Linked DNA regions of Homo sapiens: region 1 is linked to region 2. The links are contacts of gene promoters, found by promoter capture Hi-C in human tissues and cell types (Jung and others, 2019). All regions are on one chromosome and are shown on one strand. Each heading gives the region's core, a stretch centred on a gene start or on the middle of the fragment in contact. The rest is flanking DNA. Distances are from core to core; before and after follow the strand shown.

Evidence for each region. The method cuts DNA at HindIII sites, captures the fragments that hold promoters and counts their contacts. A contact is called where the count stands out against the background at its distance.
Region 1: a contact is called between a fragment that was not itself captured here and the fragment with the promoter of POMK in region 2, in 1 of the 25 tissues and cell types used here (hippocampus).

What each region holds. Positions count from the first base shown.
Region 1 is chr8:42,037,775-42,044,440 of GRCh38, reverse strand. The region is part of intron 2 of KAT6A (lysine acetyltransferase 6A); the gene reads left to right. LOC124900271 (small nucleolar RNA SNORD112) reads left to right here and starts at 866; the gene lies at 866-937. The HindIII fragment of the contact is 7,148 bases long and covers 1-5,182 here.
Region 2 is chr8:43,088,751-43,095,805 of GRCh38, reverse strand. POMK (protein O-mannose kinase) reads right to left here and starts at 2,291. Exons shown (of 5, transcript NM_032237.5): 1 at 2,243-2,291. RefSeq lists a silencer at 2,054-2,263 and enhancers at 1,515-2,420, 2,421-3,327, 4,662-4,851. The HindIII fragment of the contact is 5,704 bases long and covers 1-5,154 here.

The sequences.
Region 1 (6,666 bases), core at 359-2,858, 1.1 Mb after region 2:
CTGAGGAGAATCCATGGGATACTGTGATTAAAAGTTTTTAGGCCAGGCCTGGTGGCTCAGGCCTGTAATCCCAGCACTTTGGGATGCCGAGGGGGGGGTGGATCACCTGAGGTCAGGAGTTCAGGACCAGCCTGGCCAATATGGTGAAACCCCATCTCTACAGAATACAAAAATCAGCCCGGCATGATGGTGGGTGCCTGTAATCCCAGCTACTCGGTAGGCTGAGGCAGGATAATCGCTTGAACCCAGGAGGCGGAGGTTGTAGCGAGCCTAGATTGTGCCACTGCACTCCAGCCTGGGCAACAGAGCAAGACTCCATCTCAAAAAAAAAAAAAAAAAAAAGTTTTTACCCATGTTATAAGGGAAATTTTTGAGCTAACTTTAGAGTGTGGTAGTTAATGGTGAGTTTATTTATTAAAGTGTTTATTTACTATGTGCCAGGCGTTATTTTAATGCTGTATATATATTAACTCATTTAATCCTCTAACATAACTAGCTACTGTTAGGTTAGTTAGTTATTAATAACATAACAGTACCAGCAGTGAAATAGCTACTGTTATTTTACAGGTGAAGAAACTGAGGCATAAAAGAGATTTCAGTAACTTGCTGAAGTCACACAAATATTAGGTGGCAGAGCTGGGATTTGAATTTGGGCAGTCTGGCTCCAGAGTCTTTGTAATAGCCATACTGACCACCTCTTAGGAGCAGTAATGTATGATGGCTATCACTGCACTCAAGTACAGAATCGTGAATGTCCTTGGTGTTAACTTCATAGCACATTTCCTAATTGTTAAAGGACAAATTCCCGCCCGTCTTCATTGTGTCCATTTTTCTTTTTTTGCAGAACAGATTTGAAAATTCACTTTGGACCAGTGATAAGAATGTGTTAGGAACCAAAGATTAGGAGTAATCTAGTTTTGTATATCTGAGGTCCATTAAAAAAAAGTTTCACCTACATGCCATTTTTTTCCCTTAAAGATAATTTCTGTGCTAACTAATTTTCATTTCAGTTGTCACTAACATTTTCTGATAGGCAAGGTAGGGATCAGTTGTATTGCTATACCAGAGTGCTTTAATTTGGGACAGAAATACTGTTTTCCTTGAATCATGGGATTATAGGTGAGGAGAAGAGTGTGTAACTGGCTTAAATAGCATCTTCCTCTTTGTAAATTTCTTTTTGAAATATAGATATTACTGTAAGGTAATTTGTTCCATTTACTTCAGTTATTCATTATTTATTTAGCAAACATTTGAATGCCTGCCATGAACAGTGGATTTAAGATTTAGGTCCTGTGAGGGGATTAAAGCAGACAGAATAGAGATACAAAATAAATTTTTTGAAAGCCTTTTTTAGTTTATGAACTGTAATTTTTTTACATTATTATTTTTTCATAACAATTAAGTATCATGACTCAGAAATAATAATATGTTTAGTGGGCAAGGCAATTATTTGAGACTGTGATGGTCCATTTAAAAAATTATCTTTATATAGTGAGTCTTGGAAAGATTCAATTTCCTTTCAAGAATAGTTTTCACCTTGATTTCAAACTTCTGAGTTCATTTTTACACACTGACATAATTTACTTGAATATATATAGTTTGTGTTCTGTATTACTAGCCCAGAAAAATATTCTCTTTCATGGTAATCAGCCAGATCATTAAAAGTATTGTTATTTGGTGGCATAGTATTTTGGAACAGAATTATAATTTGCTAAAGCGTTCAGTTGGACAGGGAAGAGTAGGTATTGTCAACTAATGTTATTGTTCAGGTTACTCCCAGCTGGGTAACCTGGAGCAGAAAGATCCAATGATAAATCTCTTGCCTTCTACTCTAAGTTACATCTCAATTTGGTCAACTCTTAGTAGAGTCCAAATTATTTTGTTTTATTGGAATTTATATTTTAAATTATAGAGGAAGTAGAGCTTTGACAGGAATTTAGAATTTAAATTTTCGATGTAGAGATACTGATTAAAATGGGGATTTTTTTTTTTTTTTTGAGAGATGGAGTCTTGCTTTGTTGCCCAGGCTGGAGTGCAGTGGTGCAACCTCCACCTCCTGGGTTCAAGCGATTCTCCTGCCTCAGCCTCCCGAGTAAGCTGGGATTATAGGCGCATGCCACCATGCCCGGCTAATTTTTATATTTTTAGTAGAGATGGGGTTTCACCAGGTTGGCCAGGCTGGTCTCGAACTCCTGACCTCATGATCCGCCTGCCTCGGCCTCCCAGAGTGCTGGGATTATAGGCGTGAGCCACCGTGCCCGGCCAGGGATATGTTTTTAAGTTACTGAAAGTTAAGAGTGATGAAGTTTTGATTTAGCTATTTGGAAATGACCTTTATAGTAGAATAGTTGCACATTTTATATGTTAGAATGGTGGTATTTTATAAGAAAATTGTTAACCAATATAAGCTTGGAAATTTCAATTTCAATTACTCTGTTGCGTTGATACTGTATAAAAAGGCAATAAATAGTTGTCCATGCTATTAAATTCAGGGCTATGTGGACTGCTTGACAGAATGATTGTTCACTTTGGAAAAACAAAAAAAACAAAAAATCTTCTGAAGGCAAAAGATAAAATATTGAGGATACAGTGACGTGGAAAATGTAGCTATTATCAAGTGTGAAATGGATTGATCTCAGTAATTGTTATATTTAATAATTTAAACATTTTTTATGACATGCATTTCTTTTCTTTTTTTTTTTTGAGATGGAGTCTTGCTCTGTTGCTTAGGCTGGAGTGCGGTGGCCCAGTTTCAGCTCACTGCAACCTCCGCCTTCCAGGTTGAAGCAATTCTACTGCCTCTCCCCTCCTGCTGTCTGCGATTACAGGCGTGTGCCACCATACCTACCTAATTTTTGTATTTTTAATAGAAATGGGGTTTCACCATGTTGGCCAGTTGTGTTCTCGAACTCCTGACCTCAGGTGATCCGCCCACCTCCGCCTCCCAAAGTGCTAGGATTACAGGCGTCAGCCACCATGCCCGGCCCATGCCGTACATTTCTGACATCATTGTTTATACCATTTGTTTGTGACTCCAAATGTACCAGGAGCAGTGGCCTAGAAATAAAAATTTGTTACTAACAAGTCATTGAGGTGGATTAATTGTAAATCTGGTTAGGAATTAATTTTGTCTTAGCAGATTTATTCTTCAAAAATTCAGAAATTTAAAAATAACTCAGAGATATGTTTGTAAAATAGTATCTGTTTAAGTACAATCAGCTGCACAGTTTTTTTTTTTTTTTTTTTTTGAGACGGAATCTCACTCTTGCCCAGACTGGAGTGCAGTGGCGCAACCTTGGCTCACTGCAACCTCTGCCTCCCAGGTTCAAGTGATTCTCCTGCCTCAGTCTCCCAAATAGCTGGGATTACAGGCATGCGCCACCATGCCTGGCTAATTTTTGTATTTTTAGTAAAGATGGGGCTTCACTGTGTTGGCCAGACGAATCTCAAACTCCTGATTGGCTTCCCAAAGTGCTGGGATTATAGGTGTGAGCCACTGTACCTGGCCAACTGTGCAGATTTTTTTGATCTTCTGGTTCACCTATGAGCACAATGATTTTTGGTAATTTTCAGTGCATGACATACCTCGAAATAAAGCTACTGAGCTACTAAAGCTTGGGTTAGCCATTACTAATCCAAAGTTCTATACCAAACCAATTTTTCTTTTCTTTCTTTCTTTCTTTTTTTTTTTTTTTTTTTTTTTTTGAGACAGAGTCTTGCTCTTGTCACTTAGGCTGGAGTGCAATGGTGCGATCTCGGCTCACTGCAGCCTCCGCCTCCTGGGTTCAGGCGATTCTCCTGCCTCAGCCTCCCGAGTAGCTGGGTTTACATGCACCCGCCACCACGCCTGGCTAATTTTTTGTATTTTTAGTAGAGACAGGGTTTTGCCACGTTGGCCAGGCTGGTCTCGAACTCCTGACCTCAGGTGATCCACCCGCCTTGGCCTCCCAAAGTGCTGGGATTACAGGTGTGAGCCACCATGCCCAGCCACCAATTTTTCTTATGCTTACAACCTAGACATTTTTCTAGCGAATAAGTACTTTACTCTTTCTTGGTCTACCTTCCAATTGGTGAAATAAAGGGAAGGAATTAATGAAGACATCGGGTACCACAAATGGCTTCAGGAATAGAAATCCAGAGGTTCTAATGGTCTTAACCTCGTTTTTTCTTTGCTCTGTATCAATAGGCTAAGGGAACGTAAAGAGTTGCTTATAGAAACCTATTAATAGCTAACATTTGTTAAGGGCTGATGATGTGTTAGGGACTTTTTTTTTTAAGTGTTTTAACATGTACTTTCTTATTGAAGTCTCAAAAGAATTCTATATGATTAAATTTTATAGGCATAATATATTTATATAATAGGTATTTAATAGTATTTAATCATACAAATTTTCGGCAGGGCGCGGTGGCTCACGCCTATAATCCCAGCACTTTGGGAAGCCGAGGCAGGCGGATCTCGAGGTCAGGAGATCGAGACCATCCTGGCTAACGTGGTGAAAGCCCGTCTCCACTAAAAAATACAAAAGAAAAAAAAAAAATATTAGCCAGGCATTGTGGTGGGCGCCTGTAGTCCCAGCTACTTGGGAGGCTAAGGCAGGAGAATGGCGTGAACCCGGGAGGTGGAGCTTGCAGTGAGCCGAGATTGCGCTACTGCACTCCAGCCTGGGTGACAGAGTGAGACTCCGTCTCAAAAAAAAACAAAAATTAATAATAATAATACAAGTTTTCATTATGTCTTATAGAAAACCAAATGGAAAATGAATATAAGGAAATGCAAAATACATTAAATTTCTTTTTACCCTTGCTGCCTGTTTTTTCTTTAGTTCATCCTGGACTTGTGGGCCAATACTTTTTTGTTATGTTTAATACTAGGAGAGCAAATACATAACAGGAACTGTGATGAATCTGGAAAGAAAATTTATATCATTCAGTCTTCCTGAAGCTGTAAGAATCTCCTTAACATCTATTAGATTTATTTTCTCTTTGCATTTAAAGTTTTGGAGAAAATATCTTTGTCATACTGACTTGGTTCTTAGCTATGTAAGAGGACTAAATCTAGGTGCGGAGTTTGCTGGTTTAAATAGAATTAAAAATTTATTTTTTTCTGGTGACCTGGAGAGTGTTTCTTAAAATTATAATAATGAATACTTTTCATGCTCTGATTTATGTATAGGAATTATTAAGAGCTTCACTCTGATAAAGTTATTTACCACTTGGCTACTCAGGGGTGGAGTCATTTCACAAAGGATCTGCAGCGAATGAATTAGACCAGGAGTAACTTCACCCTTCTGCTTGTCCCAGCTGGAGCAGGATTAGGACTCATTCAGCTGCAGCTGGTTCCCAGGAAAATGAAAGCAGTTCCTTCTGGTTTTTTCCTTTCATATGAAAGTCATAGTTCCCAGCAGATGGCTTTCATCAGCCCTGTACATGTATCTGTAAATTCAAGGCCAAGGAATTATTTTCAACTTCATTAGGGAACAGGTGAAGAAACCATTTGTAGTGTGGCACTATTTTATTAGGAGTTGAAATTAAGCATAGAGATTATAGTAGTATGCCATTCTGGGTCAAAATAGTTTTTAACTGTCAGCAATTTAAAGAAAAAAAAAGACTGCTAAGGAAAAGTAAGTCTGGCTGTAGTGTTGATTGAGGTATCTTTTATGGTTGAATTGTATTATGCTTACGAAACATAGATTATTAGAAAAAAAGACTTGTATCTTCTGCATTGTGTAGAATGTTCAGCCAGTAGCAATCTTGGATCACAGTGATTCTAATCTGATTTCACAAATAATAGGGAAATTTGAGAGCCAAAGAGGTTGAAGTGTCTTGTCCAGTGCCACACAGCCAGTTAATACCATCTGGAAGAATTGGTCAGGCCCTTCTCAATTTTGTGCTTTTTTCATTATGCTGTAGTACTGCTTTATAGTATTAGAGAGCAGTGAGCCTAAAATAATTTAGTTAGAATTCTCTTCCTTAATGGAAACCATAGAATAAACCTTGTCTAGAGAATATTGGTGGTATCGTAAACCACAAATATATAAATCTGCTATTTCAGTGTGTGAAAATAGCTATACACTCTTGTTAGAGTTTTGAAACAACTTTTTGGGAAAAGACTGCTTTCTTATGGCCCAAGTTAGAGGAATCAAGGTTTTCTTATGTTGTTGGCTAAATATTAGAAGGGGAACATGTTGAGCTACCTTAATGCTGGAAGAAAAAGTACTCCTTGAGTTTTGGGAAAAAAAGTCCATTTAAAGGTAAGTCTAATTTTCAGTAGGTCTGCAACACAAATGACCTCTGAGTGACTTGGATCATTGGTTAGAATTTAAAATTCTTGAGACTGAGCTAGAGATAGCAAGGTACAAACCTTTCTATTAATTAATGAAGTAATTTTTACCAAAGACATTAAATATGGGTGGACCAAAAGTGTATAGTCTAGCACTTCTATAAACATAGTGTCTGGGAGGAGCTTGAGAGATTTGTAATGTTACTTGTAAACAGACCGTGTGGGGAAGACCGCAGACAGCACATCATTTTTTGTCTTTATTGGTCTTTATGACTAACACTTCATCTCTGCATCACTTCTGCTTTGCTGTAAAACTTAGCAAGTACATTAGGATAGTGGCAAATAAAGATTAAGATTGAGGACAGATGTTTGTAAAATAACTGGGC
Region 2 (7,055 bases), core at 1,042-3,541:
TGAAGCTTATACAAGTTGGGGCAAGGAGTGGTAATTCCTTAAGAGAAGAATAGTTATGAATGTAAAAGTGCTGAGCCTCTTGCCAGAGTTTTGGCAAGAGGATTTGTGCAAGGTTTTGGAAGGTATTTGTGCAAGTGAAGAGGCTAGAGGCTTCATCATAAACCCAGATCTGCTTGTCATTCACCAGACCCATGTAACTTGCCCTGTCCACTTCTTCATTTCCACTCAAAGGCTGCCAACATCAGCTACAAAACTCTGTGGGACTCTAGAAATGCATATTTTCTAATCTCTCTTGGACCCTCAGCATTACTCAGAAAACCTTTAATGCATTTCTTGCTGAATCCAAATTTCATATGCCCCAAAAACCTTTTATATATCCCTAAGTCCTCACATTCACTTCTGAATCCTCTCTCGGCAAAAACAAACCAAACCAAACCAAAACAAAACAAATAAAAAAAATACCCCAAAATTCATTTGACTTTTATACACTGTCAACTTCACACCAATTCTGTGAAGTGGATGTAATTGTTGTTATTCCCATTTCACAGATAAGACAACTGAGTCAGAGGTGAAGTAATATATCTAAGGTCACTGAACTATACACAGAAGAGCCAAGTTTTCTGGCCTCAAGCCCATTCTTCCCCTAAATACCGCAATGCTCGGGAGTTGAACTAAATCAAACCCAGCGTGGTCAGCTAGGGGCTGGGCTGGGGTACCCTGGGACTGCCGGTTTCTTAAAGAAGACTTCAGCCCACCTCAACCCCGATTTGCTTTTTTGTTTCACAGGCATATTCTGGAGTAGGCCGCCCAGAGCATAGCATGAGGCTGTGTGGCTAAAGGAACTTTCGTGTCCAGAAGTAAGCAAAAACCACTGAAATTTACTGGTCCTGAAAACAGCCTGCACATTAAGGAATAAAGATGGTGGGGCAGGTTGGGCAGAAGAAATTCAGGCACGACTGAAATGCAAAGCATTTCTGACACTGATAGGAAGGCTTATTGATAGAGAAAGGCTTGGGACCCACTGCTCCACATTTACAGCTTAAAAAGAAAAGAAAAGCAAAGGGACAAAACTAGTTTTTACCGACTTACAAGATATTTTCTACAACTAGGGAAGACACAGAGTAATGTCATCCAATACAGTTTAGAGTAGAATTCCATTGCGCCAATAAAGCACAAGGTACATTAAGAGGATTATTTTAAATATTCTGAACGCTTATTTAGCCTTAAGGTTCTATAGCAAAGGCAAAGGGTGGCAAAGACAAGATTATGCAACAAAACAGCGAAATTTTGCTTTCTAAAAAAAAGAGAATATGATTACACTTAACACCTCCTGGCAACAATGATCTCGTGCAGAATAAACACCCAAAGGCAAAGAGCTGAGACAGAGTCCTCGGTCCTTTCTGGTTTTTTTGTTTTTTGTTTTGTTTTGGTTTGGTTTGGTTTTTGTTTTTTTAAACAGAGACAGCCTCTGCCGGACCCAGTAGCTCACGCCTGTAATCCCAGCACTTTGGGAGGCAGAGGCGGGCGGATCACCTGAGGTCAGGCGTTCGAGACCAGCCTGACCAACATGGGGAAACCCCGTTTCTACTAAAAATACAAAAATTAGCCGGGCGTGGTGGCGGACGCCTGTAATCCCAGGAGCCAAGACCGCGCCACTACACTCCAGCCTGGGCGACAGAGCGAGACTCCGTCTCAAATAATAATAATAATGATAAAGTAATAATAATAGAAACAGCCTCTCACTCTGGCCCCCAGGCTGAAGTGCAGTGGCGCGATTTCGGCTCACTGAAACCTCCGCCCCCGCCGGGTTCAAGCATTCTCCCGCCTCAGCCTCCGGAGTAGATAAGACTATAGGCGGCGCCACCGCGCCCGGCTAAGTGCTTTTTTACGGAGACAGAAGTTCCGCCATGTTGCCCAGGCTGCTCTCGCCTGAGCTCACGCGATCCTCCCGCCTCGGCCTCCCAAAGCGCTGGGATTACAGGCTGGAGCCACCTCGCCGGGCCCTTCTCTGGTTCTTTAACGTCCCGCTACCGCGCAGGGGTGGACGCGGAGATAGGGGCTGGGCGCGGTGGACACGGCCGCTCAGGCCCAGCGCAGCCTCCTAGGGAGCCTCCGGACAGGCCGCGGGCAGGCGGCCGGGGCTGCGGGGGGTGCGGCCCAGGCCACGTACAGGGTCCCCCGGGAAACCCAGCTGCACGCCCCCTCGCCCCTTCGCCCTCTCACCCCTCGCCGCAGCACCTACCTGCAGCCCAAGCCTCTGCGGCTCCTGCCACCCCGGGCCAGCACGCACTGGGCCTACTGCGCTTGCGCGTTCGGAAGCGCGTCCTGGGCGGGTGAGCGTGGCGCTGCTGCCCCCTGGCGTCCTCCTCCGGCCGTGCACTGAAGCCGGAGCGAACGCCGCGGCGGTACCAGCGCGCACCTACCCAGTCTCCCTGTCTGGCTTCTGCTTCCCTAACTTGGGAGAACGATTTTGTGTTGACCGACTATTGCTTCAGCCTGGAGCCAGGCTCATGCAGAGCAGCTGTCAGATCTAGACGCACTGCGAGGCCTTCCAAAGCGTAGTCCTCAGACCCGCGGCATCTGCAGGGACCTTGCTGGAAAGGCTGATTCCCAGCTCCGGCCCAGACCCGCCACTCGGGGACCCAGATGCCTGAAGTTGGACAATCGCTCTGTAAAAGAAACTGTGGGGCTTAGCCTAGACGCAGTAAAGCTGAGCTGCACACATCAAGCGCAGCAGACAAGACCTTGGCAAGCCTCCGCGGAGGGGCAGGACTGGGCAAAGGCGGGGAAGTCCGTCGAGGGCCGGCCAGGAGCCCTGCCGGGAGCCCAACACGCACTCGGGCGCTTGCTCCGGGAAACCGAAAGGGAGGCTTGCAGCATCGAAGTCAGCTGGGTCATGGAACGTCTAGGTTGTGTACATCGGAAGCGTTAGCTGCTTCTACACTGACACACTGCGAAAGTCCAGAATCAAGACAGTAACATGGTGTGGGTTAAAAAAACTGAGCCGGTACTAGCTATCCAAACAGTATTAAAATTAACAGAAACGTTTGCCTATCACATGGACAAACAGCGGTAATACCTCCTGTCGTTACAGTAGAGTCTGAAAGTTTCCTCACACATACAAGTGAGTGTAAATTGGAATTCCTCCTACGTGCCCTAGCAAATCCATTTCTAGGAATTTATCCTTCAGAAATAACGTCTGTGGCCGGGCGCCGTGGCTCATGCCTGTAATCCCAGGACTTTGGGAGGCCGAGGTGGGCGGATCACGAGGTCAGGAGACCGAGACCATCCTGGATAACACGGTGAAACCCCGTCTCTACTAAAAATACAAAAAATTAGCCGGGCATGGTGGCGGGCGTGAGAATGGCGTGAACCCGGGAGGCGGAGCTTGCAGTGAGCCGAGATCGCGCCACTGTACTCCAGCCTGGGTGACAGAGCGAGACTCCGTCTCAAAAAAAAAAAAAAAAAAAAAGAAAAAGAAATAATATGTCTGCAAGATGTATGCACAAGAGATCTTGCTGAAGCATTGCTGATAAAAGATATTTATAATAGAGAAAAAAAGAAACCTGAATGTATAACAATAGGGGTTTCTGAAAGAAATTATATTACATCCACATAGCCATGAAAAATACTAACGGGTGCACAGTTTCAGTGTGAGAAGATGGTAAAGTCCTGGAGATGGATGGGGGTGATGGTTGCACAACAGTGTGAATATACACCAATAAATTGGGTGGAGGCCGAGAGCTCGGGGCCGTGAGCAAGCCTCCAACGCTCCGGTCCCCCGGACCCGCCTTTTAAACTCTTATTCTAATTCCTTTGTCTTCGCTGGACTCGGGGTACCCGCCGGGTGGTGTGGGGCTGGTTTCCCCAACAACTTCACTCTAGCCTGGGCAAAAGAGCAAAGCTCCGTCTCAAACAAACAAAGATAGAAACCAACCAGCAGCTCTCCTTGCTGAGTTCTTTGCCACGTGGCCACCATTTTGTGCCCACAGGCTTTTTGGGGGTGCTGGGAAAAGGTGAAATTTTAACACTGATGAAAAATTAGAGGAATTAAATTCAAACAAAAAATTAAAAATAAAAAGAACAGCAGAATTTGACGCACCATCAAACTGGTTGTGTCACCCATCTTCAAGCTGAAGGTAGTCCAAAGCCTGGAACTGAGTGTCGGGGGCACACACAGAGACTCGGGAGAAACCCTCTGATTCTGGCTCGTGGAGCAGAAAAGGAAACTCCTAACCCTCAGAGGGAGTGAAGAAAATTCCCTGTTCTTTCTATTTTCTTCTTTTCTTTGCACTCCAGCCCCCAGTCAAGCCCAAGGCCAGAGCAAAAAGCTTCAGCAGCCAAAAGTCTGAGGGAAAGAGATAGTCCTTTCCATTCAGTAGCACTGCAGCTCCAAGAGGACAGACACAAACTTGGTGTTTTGTTGTTTTTAACTGTTTCCCACTGCTGTGGCACAATTGTGGAAGTGGGCAGCTCCCCCAAGCCAAACTGAAAGTGGGAAGTTTCAGACCAGCGCACTGAAACCTGAGGGAACCTAAAAACACTGAGAAGATAGCGGAAGGTGAGAGCATCTGGCAAGCAACCTCACAGAGTTGTTTTTGAACTCTTGGGCTCATCGCTGACCTGCGTATCATCGACTTAACGAGCACACCAAACACTCAGAGAACTGTGCTCATGAACAGATTTTTGTTCAGGTACCAAACTACGGGAGGATGCAGCCACGAGACAGATCCAAATAGCCCCACAGAGGGTATGAACACAGAACTCACTTTGGAACATGAACCCCAGAAGAAGATCGGAACCTGCAGGCTGTCCCTAACTAGTTCATGTGCTTGCTTAAATTAAACTGTTGGCCAGGCGCGGTAGCTCACACCTGTAATCCCAGCACTTAGGGAGGGCAGATCACCTGAGGTTAGGAGTTTGAGACCAGCCTGGTAAACATGGTGGAACCCGGTCTCTACTTAAAAAAAAAAAAAAAAAAAAAATAGCCGGGCATGGTGGCGGATGCCTGTAATCCCAACTGCCCGGAAGGTTGAGGCACAAGAATCACTTGAACCCAGGAGGCAGAGGTTTCAGTGAGCCCAGATCACAGCACTGCACTCTAGCCTGAGTGACAGAGCAAGACTCCTTCTCAAAAAAAAAAAATTAAAATGCCAACATTCTCCATAGGATTTAAACAAGAATTAGAGCCTCATAATATTCAAAATGCTCAGGATACAAAATTGCTAGGCATATGAACCATCACAAAAATCTCAACTTGCATGGGAAAAGATAATCAAGAGTCACCAACTATAAAATGACTGTTAGGATTATCTGAAAAAGACATTAGTTATGAAAATGCTCAAAAAATTATAAACATTCTTGAAACAAAAGTTAAAATAGAAAGTATGGGGCTGGGCACAGTGGCTCGCGCCTGTAATCCCAAGACTTTGAGAGGCTGAGGCAGGCGAATCACTTGAGATCAGGAGTTCGAGACCAGCCTGGCTAACATGGTGAAACCCTGTCTCTATTAAAAATACAAAAATTAGCCGGACATGGTGGCAGGTGCACTCAGGAGGCTGAGGCAGGAGAATCGCTTGTACCTGGGAGGTGGAGGTTGCAGTGAGCCGAGATCGTGCCATTGTACTCCAGCCTGGGCCACCGAGCGAGACTCTGTCTCAAACAAATAAAAAATAATAATTTTAAAAAAGAAAGTATGAGTAAAAAACTTGGAGAAAGTAAGAGGAACCAAATAAACATTTAAAATAGAAAAGTACAATAATCAAATTTTAAAACTCACTGGATAGATTCAATGGCAGAATGGAAATGACAGAGGAGTCAGTGAACATGAAGACAGATTAATAGAAATTATCCAAACTGACCAACAGAGAGGAGGGGAAAATTAATAAAACTTCAAGCACCTGTGGGACATAACAAAAGGTCTAATATTTATGCCATCAGAATCCCAAAGCAGATGAGAAAGAAAGCACTAAAAAGCTTTTGAAGAAATAATGGCTGAAAACTTCCCAAGTTTGGGAAAGAAACACCAACCTACAGATTCAAAAAACTGAGCAAACCCCAAATGCAATAAATCCAAAGACATCCATGCCCAGACACATCAAAATCAAACTGCTGAAAAATAAAGACAAGGAAAAAAAATTGAAAACAGCCAAAGAGAAATGCCACGAGCTGTAGGTGACCCACAATCCTAATGACAGTGAATTTATCCTCTGAGATCATGAAGACCAAAGTGGCACAACGTTTTTCAAGTGCTGAAAGAAAAGAATTGCAAGCCCAGAATTCCATATGCAGTGAAAACATCCTTCAGGAATAACCTTGAAATAAACTAAGATGAAGGAAAACTAAGAGAATTTGTAGCCTGCAGACCTACTCTAACAGAACTGCTAAAAGAGTTCTTTGGTGGCTCAAGCCTGTAATCCCAGCACTTTGGGAGGCTGAGGCGGGCAGATCACCCGAGGTCAGGAGTTCGAGACCAGCCTGGCCAATATGGTGAAATCCCATCTCTACTAAAAATACAAAAATCAGCTGGGCGTGGTGGCACGTGCCTGTAATCCCAGCTACTGGCAAGGCTGAGGCACTGAGGTTGCTTGAACCTGGGAGGCAAAGTTTGCAGTGATCTGAGATCACGCCACTGCACTCCAGCCTAAGCGACAGAGTGAGACTCCATCTCAAAAAAAAGAGAAAGTTCTTTGGACAGAATAACAGAAATGAAAGAATAACAGAGAATATAAATAACTGGGTAAATGCGATACACTCTCCTTCTTTTCTTGAGTTCTTTAAAATATGTTTGGTGGTTTAATACAAAAGTATTATAAGATTATCTGATGGGTTTTTGTTTTTTTTTTTTTTTTTTTGTCTTTTTTTTTCTGTTTTTTTTTTGAGACAGAGTCTCACTCTGTCACCCAGGCTGGAGTGCAGTGGTGCGATCTCGGCTCACTGCAAGCTCTGCCTCCCGGGTTCACGCCATTCTCCTGGCTCAGCCTCCCGAGTAGCTGGGACTACAGGCGCCCGCCACCATGCCCGGCTAATTTTTTGTATTTTTAGTAGAGATGGGG